2 separate regions of the Homo sapiens genome follow, and region 2 is linked to region 1. The links are contacts of gene promoters, found by promoter capture Hi-C in human tissues and cell types (Jung and others, 2019). All regions are on one chromosome and are shown on one strand. Each heading gives the region's core, a stretch centred on a gene start or on the middle of the fragment in contact. The rest is flanking DNA. Distances are from core to core; before and after follow the strand shown.

Region 1 (3,214 bases), core at 1-2,500:
ACAGTGACTCCGGAAAGAAAGCATTTGCCCAGCGCTGAGGGGCATGTAGACGTGGCAAGGGGCCCATGACTTGGTCAGGGCTGTGTCCTGAGCCCACTGGGCGGCCTCTCCTCTCTTCCCCGCCCCTTCCATTGCCACGGCTCCAGGTGGGGCTGAGACCGGCGGAGGCAGCTTGGCGGGCAGGTCCTGGCTTGTGTCCGCCGCCTGCTATGCTCTGTCCCCTCCCAGCTGAGTCAGTGGCCGAGCCCCAGCGATCCCTCTTGACACCCTCAGGAGCAGAAGGCCTCAGCACGGCTGCACGGTGTGCATTCACTCTGTGGATACCTGTGTGCTCCACAACAGCAGTTTCCCTGGACTTCTGTGGCCAACGTGTGAGCCCACGTTCGGCCTCCCCTGTGGATTGGGGTGTGAGCCCACGTTCGGCCTCCCCTGTGGATTGGGGTGTGAGCCCACGTCCCTCTCTGTGCCCTGTTGTGTGGCTGTGTGGGTCCGAGTCTGGTGGGCATGTCTGCGTTGCGTGAGTCTGTGAGCTGTGTAGTTGCTGTGTGTCTTTGTGTCCTGTTGCAGTGTGATGCTGCATGGTGACTATATTGTCTGTGTGGTGTGTTCAGTGACTTTCTAGGTGACAGCGCCGTGTGGGGTGTGTACAGTATGCATTGTGCATTTCCTCCTGTGCTGTATGTGTGACTGGGCTGTGTGCTGTGGGGTGTCCCCTGGTGCCTTGGGGGCCACCAGGTGTGTGTGTCTGAGTGTGGATGGAGGCCGGGGGGACGTTCGGCAGAACTGAGCCTATTTCTGTCCTTCAGGCCTGCCTGAGCTGGGCCATGGGCATCAGCCCAGCGTCCTCAGCAGTGCCCCCTCCCTGAAGTCCCCTCTCCTACCAACCAGAGGCAGAATCTCCTACCAGAGTTAGGTAGGAGTTTGGTCTTCTCTGCTGTTTTGACACGGTGGGACAGACCCATTGGTCAAGAGGAGGGTCTGTCCATCTGTCCAGCTGTTCCAGTTCCAGACATGTGCCCACCTCCCCCAACCCCAAGGTGCTGGAGGGTGCTCAGGATACCAGGTGGCAGTGCCTGCGTCTCTGGACCCTGGCAGGGGACCCTGGCACCGACACGTGTTACCTGTAGGGGTCCAGTATGGGAGGACACCTTCGCAGGTGGCTCCAGCTCCCCTGGCAGCCGAGTTTCAGGGACCGGGAGAAGAGCCGTGAGGGAAGAAGGCTGACTCAACAGGCAGCCCAGCCAGCAGCTGCCCCACACGGAGGAGGAGGAAACACCTCGGCAGGGCCTGATGCAAAACCGGGCCTGGACTCCCAGCGCCCGGGGGTGCGCCCCCGCAGCCGACTGGAGAGGCCCAGCTTGGCCCCAGCTCCACTGAGCAGGCCCTCTAGAACGGGTAGCAGCCCCACCTTGCCCACAACGGGGCTGATAGGAACTCGCTTTGAAAGCAAGTTAGAAACCTTTCTTTTCCAGCCCCAAGGGGAATGGCAGGATGGCAGACTTTGCAGTTAGACCACCCTGTGCAGAGTCCCTGCTCTGCCAGTGGGTGTGTGATGTGACCTTAAGCAGGTCTCTTCCATTTCTTCTGATGCAAACTGTGGGTAGCAGAGTGCAAGGAGCCTATACTAAGGGAAGTGAAAGTGCCCGGTGCGAGCTGGCATAGTCGGGGTGAGGTGTCCCCACTCCAGCATAGCCTAATGCCCACGGCCATCTCAGCAGCTGCTGCCCTCTATATCCACATGCACTTCTGGGACATGCTGGCAGAGCAGCCCTCTCTGTCCCCTCTGCTGTCCTGAGCCCCATCTGTTTGAGGAGGCCTGAACTCTTCTAGTGCCAAGGTGAGGGTCCCACACCCTCTGTCTATGTGGAGCCCCCCTGAACTCACCCCATTCTACACCTAGATTCTGCCCACCCTGAGATTAGAAGGTTTGGGCCCTAGATTACATTGGCTTCAGGACCATGAACCTCCTGGGTTGTCTTGGGCACAAGAGGCCACACCAAAGCTTTCTGACTCCCCCCAAGTCCACTTCACTTCCCATGGCCTGCCCTGGCCCAACCCCCTCCCCTGAACCTAGGGCCATGGATTAAAGATTAGTGGGCTCCTCATAGACCCCTGGGAGAGGCAGGACAAGGGGTGGATTCTAAACAAAACCAGTCTGGGCACAGTGACTCATGCCTGTAATCCCAGTACTTTAAGAGGTCGAGGTGGGCGGATCACTCTAGGACAGGAGTTTGAGACCAGTCTGGCTAATATAGTGAAACCCCGTCTCTACTCAAAATACAAAAATTAACCGGGCATGGTGGCAGGTGCTTGCAGTCCCAGTTACTCGGGAGGCCGAGGCAGGAGAATCGCTTGAACCCAGGAGGCGGAGGTTGCAGTGAGCCGAGATCGCACCACTGCACTCCAGCCTGGGCAACACAGCGAGACTCCGTCTCAGAAAAGCAAACAAGGCTGGGCGTGGTAGCTTACACCTGTAATCCCAGCACTTTGGGAGGCCGAGACGGGTGGATCACGAGGTCAGGAGATCAAGACCATCCTGGCTAACACGGTGAAAACCCATCTCTACTAAAAATACAAAAAAAATTAGCTGGGCGTGGTGGCGGCTGCCTGTAGTCCCAGCTATTTCCCGAGTAGCTGAGGCAGGAGAATGGCATGAACCTGGGAGGTGGAGCTTGCAGTGAGCCGAGATCGCACCACTGCACTCCAGCCTGGGCGACAGAGCGAGACTCCGTCACAAAAAAAAAAAGAAAAGAAAAGAAAAGAAAACTAAACACCCACTCTTCCTTCCTGTAATCAGAACCGACTCCCACCACCACTGAGAGACAGAGGACCCTCCTCCACCTCAGAACCACAGTGGAGGCTTCCCTACTTATTTTTTGCAAATTAATCTTATTTTTCTCATCTGTTAAATGGGGGTAATCTCTCCTTAGAGGGTTTTCACTAAAATTCAGTGAGATCCTTGCAGACTTTTTTTTTTCTTTTTTTTAGATGGAGTCTTGCTCTGTCGCCCAGGCTGGCTTGGCTCACTGCAGCCTCCGCCTCCTGGGTTCAAGTGATTCTCATGCCTCAGCCTCCCGAGTAGCTGGCACTACAGGCGCCCGCCACCACGCCTGGCTAATTTTTGTATTTTGAGTAGAGATGGGGTTTCACCATGTTGGACAGGCTGGGCTCGAACTCCTGGTCTCATGTGATCTGCCTGCCTCAGCCTCCCAAA
Region 2 (3,087 bases), core at 408-2,907, 420 kb before region 1:
ACACTGGGTAAACAGAATCACCAAGAGGCTGGGTGTGGTAGCTCATGCCTGTAATCCTAGCACTTTGGGAGGCTGATGAGGTGGGTGGATGGCTTGAGTCCAGGAGTTGGAGACCAGCCTGGATGGCAAAACCCTATCTTCACAAAAAATACAAAAATTAGCTGGGTATGGTGGCGTGCATCTGTAGTCCCAGCTACTTGGGAGGCTGAGGTGGGAGAATCCCCAGGAAGTCGGGGCTGCAGTGATCTACTTGCCACTGTACTCCAGCCTGGATGACTGAGTGAGACTCTGTCTCAAAACAGTCATAGAAGAGAGAAAGAAAGAGTTTATTCTCTAATGGACAGGAAATTCCCAATTAGCAGTTAGGCTTTTAATTTTTTAAGTCTATAAGCAAGACAAACTTTTCTAGGCTGAAGGGCTGAAGGGGATAACGGGGTATGTCTACTGGTAAACAGCAAGAAATAAAAACAAAATCCAACAATTACACTTGAGTCAATATGAATTTTTATTAACACACATTTGTCAAAGTCTGTACAAACCAAAACATTCCTGTGTTTTAAAATGTCCATTATTACAAACATACAAAGAAACAAAAGGTGTTACCAAAAGTTAGCTACTCAATTTCATGGTAAAACAGTGTCATGATTTTTAAAAATCAAAATTTCAAGACTGAGGTTTCTTCTTTCCCTTTTTGGAACTTATGGAAAGTTAGAAAACGTGTGAATTTGCTTTATATTAAATGCCAAGACCTTAAAAAAAGATTTAGTATAAAACTAAGTATGTTTTTATATTGTCATACATCATGTAACAGAATTTCAGTCCTTAAAATTAAAAAAAAACACCATGACTGTCATTTCCCCCTAATTTTTCTCCCATAGTCAATGCAAATGCATCTGAAAAATATTATGACAGTTTATCTTTACCTAAAAGCTTCTCATTCAAAAACTTTACAAAACTATTTAGCACTGCCATTTCCCTTGCTTAGAAGGGAAAATTATATCCCCTAGTAGGGTGATATATAAGCGACATGGTCCACTGTATCCCTTATCAGAAGGAAACCACCATTTCCACATCTCTGTCCAATTATGTGTAGGACTCCATTTATGAGAATGCTATCACAAATTATAGAGCATCTGCTTCCAGGAAACGCCTAGAAGTTAAATTTAGTACTATAATTTTTTGGTAGACTGAGGTACAAATGTTATCTGCCCTCATTATTATTTCTAACTCTAGTACCCCCTGCATAAATGATTCTAGGGTAGTTGGTTTTGTTGTTTCATGGCACACATGACACACCCTAATTCCTTTCACAAACATCACATAGAGGACCTGAGAGTATGCCTAGAAATGTAAATCTATCCCCTTTCCTGGAAAAGTAAATCCATATTCCTACAGGGTTAAGAAGGGAAGATAGGCAGGGCATACATAACTCTGGTTGAGGCAAAGTGCTTCTGAGAAGCACCTGTTTTCAATACATATCCATGAAAAGCAGGGAGTGTATGGGCTCGGGTGGGTGAGGAGTGGGGAGAAGGTATAGTGATACCACTTTTCCCAGACTCAAGAGTCCTTACTAGAGCAGCTCATGCTGACCCCAAAAATGCTCTGTAGTTCAAATATTATTCCTTTTTTTTTTTTTTTTGAGACGGAGTCTCACTCCATTGCCCAGGCTGCAGTGCAGTGTTGCGATTTCAGCTCATTGCAACCTCTGCCTCCCGGGATTCGAGCAGTTCTCCTGCCTCAGCCTCCTGGGTAGCTGGGATTACAGGTGCATGCCACCAGGCCCGGCTAATTTTTGTATTTTTTTAGTACAGATGGGGTTTTACCATGTTGGCCAGGATGGTCTCAAACTCCTAACCTCAAATGATCCACCCGCCTTGGCCTCCCAAATTGCTGGTATTACAGGCGTGAGCCACCGCACCCGACCATATTATTCCATTTTTAATCTGTTCATTCATGTAAAAAAACATTCTCTGACAGCAGCCCAGTATGACAACTGATATAAGCAAATAAAGGATTTTATTTTTTAAAGAAGTGGCAGTGTGAGAATTTAAAATCAATCACATAAAACAATCAGGAAAGGGGTGGGGAGAGAAGTGTCCAGTACAACCTGGACAACCTTGCTTTCTGCCCTTACTTAAAAAGACAGACGGTTCAAATCTTTGCTACCTCCCTTAAGTATCTCCATAAATGCTCTTCCAAGAAATCCTCCAAAAGGCACTTAGCTCCATACTTATGCATTGAATTGTTTCACCTTAGCAATCAGTTTTTAAGACTCCAAGGTAACAAGAAAGAAAAGATCTGATTCTTTTACTAAAAGCTAGTGAATAGGACTGTTTTTTTTTCAAGAGGCATCACTTTTACAAGAACTAGCTAGACCACCATTATTCCTTTATCAAGAAAAAGTTTCTTTTTTAAAAAATAAATAAAACTCTGGCTATACATAGTACAAAGTTCATACATAATACATCTGGAAAAAAACCGAAGAGTATACCCTGAAGCAAAAGGTTTATTGGAGAGAGAAAGCCTCTTCCATTATACCAAGTCTGAAGATGGCAGTTTTCAAAGTTCAGAGGGTGGCAGTGATATATAATTAATGCCAAACTGTTTGCTCATGGGTATGGCAGGATGCAATGAAGGACCAAAAAAAAAAAAAAAAACAAAAAACAAATCATTCTGCACATTACACTGAGCAGTGACCACCACAAAAAAAAAAAAAAAAAAAAAAAGAAAAAAGAAAAAAAAAGAATAGAACCAAAATAGAGAGAAGAGGAAGAAGAAAAAGAAAAGTCCTAATAGTGAGAGAAAGAGAGCGAGCTTGAAATCCCAAACACTCAAGCATGCAGTCTAACACAGCACAAACCAGGTGTTTCCATTCAGCCCACTGCAATCGCACAAAGAAGGATAACTGTAATAAAATAGAGATTTCTTAAGAAAGCTTGCAATTCCCACAGAACAGCCAGGTCTCCAACCCTAACCCTGGACAACTCCATTTGCTGTTGCTAGGGAGCCTCCTTGAGGTCTGTCATGGAGAGGTTATAGCTCCTGACTTCTCTGACTTCTTGCTCTTGGACAAAGCAGCTGCCTGCT

Evidence for each region. The method cuts DNA at HindIII sites, captures the fragments that hold promoters and counts their contacts. A contact is called where the count stands out against the background at its distance.
Region 2: a contact is called between a fragment that was not itself captured here and the fragment with the promoter of SYTL1 in region 1, in 1 of the 25 tissues and cell types used here (dorsolateral prefrontal cortex).

What each region holds. Positions count from the first base shown.
Region 1 is chr1:27,340,058-27,343,271 of GRCh38, reverse strand. SYTL1 (synaptotagmin like 1) reads right to left here and starts at 1,250. Exons shown (of 15, transcript NM_001193308.2): 1 at 1,122-1,250. RefSeq lists enhancers at 1-615, 790-839, 1,370-1,629. The HindIII fragment of the contact is 14,194 bases long and covers 1-3,214 here.
Region 2 is chr1:27,760,517-27,763,603 of GRCh38, reverse strand. FAM76A (family with sequence similarity 76 member A) reads right to left here. Exons shown (of 9, transcript NM_152660.3): 9 at 488-3,087. The coding sequence ends at 3,023. Among named protein-coding and RNA genes, the nearest start is that of STX12, 11 kb to the left of the region's middle. The HindIII fragment of the contact is 6,157 bases long and covers 1-3,087 here.